Regions from separate parts of the Homo sapiens genome. Here region 2 is linked to region 1. Evidence: promoter capture Hi-C in human tissues and cell types (Jung and others, 2019). All regions are on one chromosome and are shown on one strand. The core of a region is centred on a gene start or on the middle of the fragment in contact, and the rest is flanking DNA. Distances in the headings are between cores, read along the strand shown. Region 1 holds the start of ADAMTS18 (ADAM metallopeptidase with thrombospondin type 1 motif 18). Region 2 overlaps ADAMTS18 (ADAM metallopeptidase with thrombospondin type 1 motif 18).

Evidence for each region. Contacts are between HindIII fragments. The study calls those that stand out against the background at their distance.
Region 2: a fragment that was not itself captured here is called in contact with the fragment with the promoter of ADAMTS18 in region 1 in 2 of the 25 tissues and cell types used here (adrenal gland and mesendoderm cells).

Annotation. Positions count from the first base shown.
Region 1 is chr16:77,432,271-77,437,176 of GRCh38, reverse strand. It overlaps ADAMTS18 (ADAM metallopeptidase with thrombospondin type 1 motif 18), which reads left to right and starts at 2,143. Exons shown (of 23, transcript NM_199355.4): 1 at 2,143-2,571; 2 at 2,672-2,759. The coding sequence starts at 2,482. RefSeq lists an enhancer at 1,947-2,447. The HindIII fragment of the contact is 10,424 bases long and covers 1-4,906 here.
Region 2 is chr16:77,381,082-77,386,066 of GRCh38, reverse strand. The region is part of intron 3 of ADAMTS18 (ADAM metallopeptidase with thrombospondin type 1 motif 18); the gene reads left to right. Among named protein-coding and RNA genes, the nearest start is that of ADAMTS18, 51 kb to the left of the region's middle. The HindIII fragment of the contact is 5,751 bases long and covers 677-4,985 here.

The sequences.
Region 1 (4,906 bases), core at 894-3,393:
GCAGTGTTTTACTGCATGTCTTTGATGTCCAGTTTCCTCTTGTGTCCAGTTCTTCATGGAATCATATGAAGCACTTAAGTCACTTGTGTCTGAATCACCCACAAGTGCTTACTACAAATGCATGCTTGGGCCCTACACCAAATCCATGGAATCAGAATCACAGTGCTTCATGGCCTGGAAATCTGCATTTTTAAGCTAGCATTACAGGTGATTTTGACGTATATTCAAGTTTGACACAGGATGTATGAAATAACAGAAATACACCATCACTTCTTAAAGTCCACTTATAATGTGCTTTGAAAAATATATTCACTTACCCCTCAGGCTATCCTTTTGATGTAGCATGTTGATTCCTATTTTACAGATTATAAAACAGAGGCCACAGAGCTTAACCAGATTAAGTAGGGAAACCCAAATGATTTGTTTAGCCCTGATGTTCTGTGAGGCTTAGCTTCATGTTCCTTAGGCAGACACATCACCTTCTCTGCCGCTACAGCCTGGGTTTACCTCTTCCCAGCTGCATTCCATAAAACCGACTATGTGTATTGAGCTATCACTTAATCGAGGCTTGACATAGACCTCATGTTAACTACTTCAGTACCCACAGGACTGAGCAGAGTAATACATCTACTTCCACTACCACTACCCTGGTCCAAGCAAGACACTGTCATTGTACCCCTTCATGCCAGCAACAGCTGCGTGGTTTGTTTCTCTCTGACCCTGCCTCAGCTCGTCCAATCCCTACACTCGCTCAAAAAATGGTTCACATTTTTTTATTATTGGATATGATGTTGCCTCCTACACATACACAAACCCACATTCATTTAAATCTAATGGTTTCCAACATGCTTCGCCCCAGCTTACAAGGTCCAGCTGACCCAGCAACTGCTGTGTTTGCTTCTTCCTCTGGCCTGTAACACTTTTCACGTGGCAATCACTTAACTACCTTGAGACCTTCACTTATGCTGTGCCCCCTGTCCTAACATGCAAGATCCTACTCCCCTCTTCCCTTATAAAACCGATCCACTCTCTCTGGCCTTATTTTAAGTGTCAGCTCCTAACAGATGCCTTGCACGTGTATGTATGCGTGTGTGTGTGTATATATATGTGTGTGTGTATATATACACCCACACACACACACACACACACACACACACACACACATCTTATCCCATCTAAATTAGATTCTGCTGCCATCTAATTTAGGAGACTATTCTTTTCCTTTTTAGTATTTGTGTTCATTTTGCTTCTATTACCGTTGTCGAGCTATCCAATCAGATTCGTTTCCACTGGCCCGTGAGACTGTATTTTGTTCACCTCTGCAAACAGGGATCAAAGGATCAAATAAATGTCTTGAGTAAACGAACAGGCACACAGCAAACTGGATGCACATTCCTAGTGATGGCGTGCGCTGTTTGTTATAACTGATTTCTGTGGGTTTGGGTATCTGGGGCCAAGATTCAATCTCGAAGAGTGGGAAGCACGGTCACGTCAAGAAGAGAGAGAGAGATCCGGGAGAAGAGGGAGGCCCCCGCGTGCCATGAGTTTTTACATGCTGCAGACAGTGACAGCTCATTGTTCTGGTCCTCCCGGCTGCCTCAGATTTGCTGACTCTGGGAAGCTAGGTCAGCTTGTGCGCATCTGAGCCTCCTTTTCCTCATCTTTATCAAGGAATTAATAATTCCCACCTGAAAAAGGTAGGGCCTGAGGCAAATGCGATACAGCAGGGGATAGCTCCCAGCACTTAGGAGGTGTTGAGGACGCTATCTTGACTCTTTGCCAGAAGAGTTGAAAATGAGAAGTCTGCACAGGCAGCGAAAAAGTCGCGCCACTCACCTGAGCCTTTCGTCTTCCGAACTCATCTCCCAGTGCGCTTAAATTACGTTTTCCAAGCCTGACCCTGGGCGCTCCCCTCCTTCTCATGGCGGTCGGTCCCTCCCTCCCTATCACTCCCACCCAGCCTCCCCGCCCCCTTCGCCCCCTCCCTCAGAGCTGGAGCCGGGAATCCCACGCCCTTGCACCAGCCCGGGGGCTCGGACGAGCCCGGGAGCCGCTGGTCGCCAATCACCGCGCGGTGGAGAGGCGGGCGCTCGGCTCCGGCGCGCTGGGGGAGCCAGCTGGCGCTGTCTTCCCCATCGCCTCAGACGCTCACACCGACACAGACAGACGCACAGACGGGCGGGCAGACACCGACAGTCTCCCAACCGTTTGCGCTCCAGTCCCGGCCCAGGGAGCCCCCCGTACCCTCTGGGGTGCCGCAAACTGCAGCTCGGCAGGCCCGCGCCGGGAGAAGGGAGGGCGCGCAGGCGGCCGGAGGAGGGGAGGTCCCAGCGCGCCCCCGCTGCGATGTGAACGGCGGCGGCTCTCACCTGGAGCCGCACCTGGGGCGCCGAGCTCCGGGGCCGCGGAAAGAATGCGCGCCGCCCGTGCGCTCCGCCTGCCGCGTCTGGCCACCCGCAGCCGCCGCGTCCGCACCTGACCATGGAGTGCGCCCTCCTGCTCGCGTGTGCCTTCCCGGCTGCGGGTTCGGGCCCGCCGAGGGGCCTGGCGGGACTGGGGCGCGTGGCCAAGGCAGGTGCCGCCGAGCGGAGCTCCGAGAGCGGGTGGCAGGGGGCGCCCGACGCCAGCCCCGCCGCGCCCCTCACGCGCGATGTCACCTTTTCTCTTGCAGGCGCTCCAGCTGTGCTGCCTCTGCTGTGCGTCGGTCGCCGCGGCCTTAGCCAGTGACAGCAGCAGCGGCGCCAGCGGATTAAATGATGGTTCGTATTTGCCCCCCATCCCCAAGAAGGGCCTTTCGCAGCACTTTGACCCTTCCTTCCCCCAAAGAGAGAAAAGATGGAAAAGCGCACCCCCTAACCTGGCAGGTGTGCGCTGTCTTGGAAATGGTTCCTGTTTGGAGAGGGGGGAAGGTTGGCAAGGACTGAACTTATCAAAAGAATCAACGCCCCGAGCTGCAAGTCACATAAAAGCAAATACTCTCCCTCCTTCACAGGTGGCTTGTTAAGAAGAACAAGAAAAAAAAAAAAATCCTAACTGCAGTGAGAAATTCGAAGGGAAGTGGACATTAACTAAGGAATTACTTATTTCCTCCCTCTCCTAACTCTTGTTGGGGGAAGCTAATTCTTAGTGGGAGATGAAAGAATGTGAGCCTCTTTCCTCTCTCCATCTTTCCTCATTTTTCTCTCGACTTCTGTTCCTTTTCTATCTCTTCTTTTTTTTTCATTTCTGCTTCCCTTGTTTTACGGATGTCTAAGGCTGCTTTTAGAGAGAGGAAAGCAGGTGACTTCAGGTCTCTGAGTCCTTTATCTATCTTTTCTGACGTTCGCCAGCCACAAACTTCCAGAAAATCCCTCACTTCTGACATTTATTAACTTCCCAGTGGAGCCCAGAGGGAAATCCTTGTTTTGATTGTTTCCCATCAGCTACAGGAGAACAGCTGATTCCTGACGCAAGGTGTCTAGGAAAACCTTACAGCTCAACCTGGATTCTTTAGAATTCTGTAATTTTTAGTTTTGCAAGGTTATCTCCTTTTCTTGTCAGGGGAATGGGGAGTGGGGCAGGATGGAGTCATGGAGAAGGGATTCACCTTTTGTCCAAACAGAGAGGCTGCAGTTTCTAAAACCACCCCTCATTCTTATATCAGGATCAGATGGCTGGAGGCCACGTCCGACCCAGCCACAACCTTGTAAGGACCTCACCCTTACTCACCTCCTGAAGTGGTCAATCAGAGATCACTCTTTACAGGGGACACTGACTGCCCTTCTTCCATCAAGAACCGAATGTAACCGACAGCCTGTTATTCTCCCCTTGGAAACAAGCTGGTAGCAGGTGTCTGGGGCCGTTTGATGGCTGGTTCCATAGAAGGCTGGCTGGATAACGTTCCTACAGAGCCTTCCAAGTAAGAGCAGGCAGAGTTTCAGATGATTTGGGACAAGAAGGTGAGACACAGACTTCCTGCATATGTCAGGAATCTTTTTCATAGTTAAGTTTTAGTTTGACAGAAGGAGAAGGTAGACTTTCTCTAAGAAATTGCACATAATCAAGAGCCACATCCCTTTAAAGCAATGTATCAGATTTTTAAGAGAAGAAAAATATTGTATGTCTGGCTCAGATTTTCAAGGTTAAGAGAGGGGAAAAACTTTTCCCCCCATTATTGTAAAATATGTATGTCAATTATACAGCATTTTTAGTTAAAGGAGGGAGTCAAGAAGAAAAATGGGAGTGGGAGGACATAAAGAATATAAAAATGAAAGCTGCCCAAGGAATAAGTCACAGATGGTTCATAAACAGAAGAAAATTATTGTCTATTGTGGAGAATTCTTTTTTAATGTGAGCCTAATTAGGCCATCACTCATTGATCTTTGCTAGCTACAGGGGCTCCACTATTCCTTAGTTTTTTTTTTTTTATTGGAGGAGGGGGAAGGTTGTTGACTGTTTAGGGAAAAGAGAAATTTCTCTTCCTTTTCCTCCTCCAGTAACTGGGGACCCAAGTGACTCAAACATACCTCGTCATTATTCAACAGCTTTCTAAACACTTTCCAAAGTAGTTTCCCATTCTGTGCCTTGAAAGTGGAAATGCAGGCTGTTTTTTAATGCACAGAGGGCATATTCCAAATCATTTTGTGGGATGATGCTTTTCAGCTTCAATGTTTGGTGAAAGAAAACAGTGTGCTGGCTTTGCTTTTCAAATAGCAAATTGTATTTTAGCTCCTCCTCTTTGGAACATTCAGCAATTAGTACTGCTCTAGGGAGCAGTGGTGAAGGTATTTTTAAACATGCCTTTCCAGGTGTCCCCTGATCTGACACTCCCCCACCAACATGCCTGAGCAATTTTATACATCAGACTATATAGGAGGGTTCTGACAATTTTGAGGCATTTTTGTGCATGCACTGTATTTTATGCTTA
Region 2 (4,985 bases), core at 2,303-4,802, 53 kb after region 1:
ACTAAGTTACCAAGTCCAATCACTTCATCAAATAGATAGGAAAACTAAATGCTAGCCAGAAATGTTCTGCTACTAATCACTTTTGAGACTTTGGACAGTTCTTTGTTCTCCCCAGATCCCATTTCCTTCCTCTGTAAAATCAGGGGGATGGACTGCACAATTGCTAACATCTCTTAATCCTATGATTATTTTTCTTTGTTTTACCTCAAGGCAGGGGGTGAGGAGGGGCAGGAAAAGATAAATAACTGAGAAAAAATTGGGACCAGCTGTTTCCAACATGGTGGTCATGTCTGGCTCTTCCACCCCACCCCTGGGAGAGCTTGGGAAGTCCTGTCAATCATCCAGCTCCACTGTGCACCTGCCCAATGGGTTGATGCCACGTAGCGTACTTAATCACATCTCTTAACAGCTGATTCCTAGACTTCCAGCTCCAGCTGTCTGTTTAACAAATAAATGCTGTCAGTTCCAAGGGAGGCAGGGCAGGGTTGGGTGGAGAGCTTGACATAACCCATTACCACCACAGAAACAAGTAAAAACACGTGTCTTTCTGATAGTGTGCATCAGCAAGCCAGCAGCCTTGGGAAGGGAGAGCATCACTGATTCCAAAAATTGGAATCCCTGTCTTGCAAATGTGGTAGATGCTATTTATGCAGCACCAGCTTAGTTACAGAATACAAGTCAACTATTCCTTCTCAGAAAGTCACTATTTTCAGCAAACATGCATTGAGAATCAAGTATAAATTCCTTACTATCCAAACTTAGAAACCAAATACATTTGGATAATGATAATTTAAATAGCAAAGGAGTTAGACTTTCGATGACAAGGGATACTAATCTTATATCAAAATATTTATCTATGGCCAGGCATGGTGGCTCACTCCTGTAATCCCAACACTTTGGGAGGCTGAGGTGAGTGGATCGCTTAAGTTCAGGAGTTCGAGACCAGCCTGGTCAACATGGTGAAACCCTGTCTCTACTGAAAATCCAAAAATTAGACAGGCATGGTGGTGCACGTCTGTAATCCCAGCTACTTGGGAGGCTGAGGCAGGAGAATGCTTGAACCTGGGAAGCGGAGGTTGCAGTGAGCTGAGATCATTCCACTGCATTCCAGCTTGGGCAACAGAACAAGACTCTGTCTCAGAAAAAAAAAAAAAAACCTTATCTGAACTGATTTGTTATGGGGAGGTTAGATTTAAATATTTTGATAACTATATATGAAATGTTGAGATTTTTTAAAAAAATCTGAAGCAAAAATGGTATCAGAAGAAGAGCTGATGAACTGGATGTTAGATAATGTAGCTTACTATATACGTTTCTCTTCTTGTCTAAATTTTTGTCATATTTCACAGTAATGCCAGGCAGAATATAAAGGGTTAAATTAGTACAATCTTCACTGCTACAGGCAGTAGAAATGCCCCATAAGTTGGGTGTTAGCCAGGGTTTTCTATAACGTACATTGGTTTTTATGGCTTTTCCATTCAAAACCTTCAGACGTTCCCCAATGTACAGAAGTTCAAACACTACCCTCAGAGATGGTCTGCCCTAACTTTGTCCTCTTAGAGAATTTTGCATATTCCCCTATTCAGTCAGTATGATTTGAGTGTCACGCCAGTACCTTCTGAGTTCTAAGGGCACAAAATCAAATACAACATCAACTCTGCTTTGCCAGGGATTTATGTTACAGGGAAAGAGAGAGAAACTAGAGAAATAATTGTTTCCTTGATATGTGCTGTGAATGGTATGGAAGCCTACGAGGGGGCTGTGTAAATCAGAATGGTGAAATGGGAAAAGGATATAATGTTTCTGATTAATTGGATGTGTTTAGCTCCAGAAGTAGAGGAGTTTCTTAAATGTAGACGTTGAAGTCTTGCTTGTTTTTATGTCTCCCTTAGCACCATACATATTGCTTTATTTTTAGTTGATTAATACCAAAAATATTTACAGAGCTCCTACCAGCTGCCAAACAATGGACATAGGGAAGTCGGCAGAACAGGCACAAAGTCCCAGCCTTTAAGGAGCTAATAGGAGGGATGAACAGTAAACACAGAAGGAAACAGCTGCGTGTGGCACTCTCATGTCATGATAAAGGCTGTTATGGGGGAAAAAAGGCTGACTGAGAAAATGACAAGGTTGGCTTTGTTTCATTTGAAAGGATGCTTTGAACAGGTGACCTTTGAAGCATCCTATTGAAACAAAGCCAACCTTGTTTCCCCAGTCAGCTTTTTGGGCCAGGCACGGTGGCTCCGGTCTATAATCCCAGCGCTTTGGGAGGTCAAGGAGGGCGGATCACGATGTCAGGAGTTCAAGACCAGCCTGACCAAGATGGTGAAACCCCATCTCTACTAAAGTCACAAAAATTAGCCAGGCGTGGTGGTGGGTGCCTGTAATCCCAGCTACTTGGGAGGCTGAGGCAGATAATTGCTTGAACCTGGGAGGTGGAGGTTGCAGTGAGCTGAGATTGCGCCACTGCAATCCAGCCTGGGTGACAGAGGGAGACTCTGTCTCCAACAACAACAACAAAAAAGAGGTCGCCTTTGGACAAAAACCTACATGAAGTGAGATATCTAGGGGAAGAGCATTCTAGGCACAGGAAACAGCAAATGAAAAAAATCTGAGATGGGAACTTGGCTTTTTTATTTATAGAACAGCAATGGAGTGAATGTAGCTGGAATTCAGTTAAAAGAAAAAATAAGAGGTAGAAGATGCTAGAGAAGCTACTAGATGCTGCATTTGGATTGGACGGGGCTGCAAAGTGTCTTGAAATCCATTTCTCTTGGTCAAGAATTCATCTTGTAGTGATAGAGCATGATGGTGAATGACCCGTTAAAAGCGATGCTTTGGAAAAAACAACTCTGGAGCAAGGGAGAAGAGAGATTGTCAACAGGGAGAGGAGATAGGAGACCACTGCTAAGTCTAGGCTTGGGGCAATACATGACCAGACTGGAATGAGAACACAGGAGGGACAGAGAGAGGAGCTCAAGAGATTAGTTGTTCATCGCAATTTGTCAGTATTCTTAACTGCATAATGCCACATTCCATAGGATGTCAGTTTGGAGCAAAGAAGGATTGGAGGAGGGGAACACAACATTGGATCACAAAATTCACATTAAAGCACACAACTTACATGGATATGAGGTAGGATCTTCTCCTCCCAGACATTCAAGCCGCCGCTTTCCAAGGATGCTGACGTGTGAAGAGGAGTGTTATTAGCAGACCCAGCAGCAAAGCCTGGAATGATCCAGGGGGAAGGTTGGCTGCATGTTCCCATGTGAACTTCATGGAAAGTCTGGTTTCCATTAAATCGAGACATGCTAGCTGTCGTCTTGGTCATTCACAGTTCACCAACAGCCTTTGTGGCAGTCATGTGTTTTCCAAATGATAACCTTAAGCTTCCTTTGAAATGATCACATTCATAAGCATGGAGGAAAGAGGATTATGAGGCACAAGGGTGTCAAACAGCTTTCTTTCATCTTCCCTAGATTGAGAAAGTCTTCATGACCAAACCACTTGTAAAGGTCATGTAGCTTCAGTATCTGTCCTTTTAACTGGTTGTTAGGGGCCAGGCACGGTGGCTCACACCTGTAATCCCAGCACTTTGGGAGGCCGAGAGGGGCGGATCACGAGGTCAGGAGATCGAGACCATCCTGGCTAACACGGTGAAACCCCGTCTCTACTAAAAATACAAAAAATTAGCCAGGCGTGGTGGCGGGCGCCTGTAGTCCCAGCTACTCAGGAGGCTGAGGCAGGAGAATGGCATGAACCAGGGCAGCGGAGCTTGCAGTGAGCCGAGATCGCGCCACTGCACTCCAGCCTGGGCAACAGAGCGACTCTGTCTCAAAAAAACAAACAAACAAACAAACAAAAAACCAAAAACTGGTTGTTAGTGTGTATTTGGCTATCTCAGGGGCTGGGAAGATATGGTATCTTTTATTATTGTGGATATGTCTCTCCCAAATATATGTGGAGTATCTCTGGCATTCAGGATGTGGCGCGGCTGTTGCAAGGCAGAGTAGTCCAGTTCTGCCCTGAAAGTACGTAGAATATACCCCACAAAAGAGAGAATAAGAGCATTTCAGGGTGAAATCTGAACTAGATTGGTGATGACCAGTAAGGACACATTCCAGAGAACAATTGAGCCAGGTATGTCTGGATCCATGGGGGAAGCTTTCTCAGTGTCTCCACTAAACACAGGACTTTCTTTTTTCATACTTTTTGGTGTGAAAATTGAGAGGACTCTGATTTGTTTATTTATTATTTATTTTTTTGAGATGGAGTCTCGCTCTGTCACCCAGGGTGGACTGCAGTGGCATGATCTCGGCTCACTGCAACCTCCGCCTCCTGGGTTCAAGTGATTCCCCTGCCTCAGCCTCCTGAGTAGCTGGGATTACAGGCGTGCGTCACTACAGCTGGCTAATTTTTGTATTTTTAGTAGAGACGAGGTTTCACCATGTTGGTCAGGCTGGTCTCGAACTTCTGACCTCGTGATCCACCTGCCGCGGCCTCCCAAAGTGCTGGGATTACAGGCGTGAGCCACCCCACCCAGCCGACTCTCTGATTTTAATGCCACTTAACCTCAGCACTCACTTCTGAGAATGACCTGAGTTTACTTGCATCTCTTTGTTTTTCTGGTCCTTTTGAAGCAGGGAAAGGAACAGCAGGTACTTGGCGGGAGGCTAGGACCTTCTGCCATTATGCCAGCCCAAAACTGGTTTGTTGTTAAAGAGTCATACCTTCAGAGTCCAGCATTTCAGCTGTCCCCCACCCCCACCCTCTCTGGAACCTTTCCTGAATCTGAACAGAATGTGTGTTTTTTAAGAGTGTGGGCAGGCCATGGAGTCAGACAGCCCCCTGATATAGAAGTGTTAATAAAGTACCCATCAGGTAGAGCTGCAAGGCCAGGCATGGTGACTCACGCCTCTAATCCCAGCTCTGTTGGAGGCCAAGGCAGGCGGATTACCTGAGCCCAGGAGTTTGAGACCAGCCTG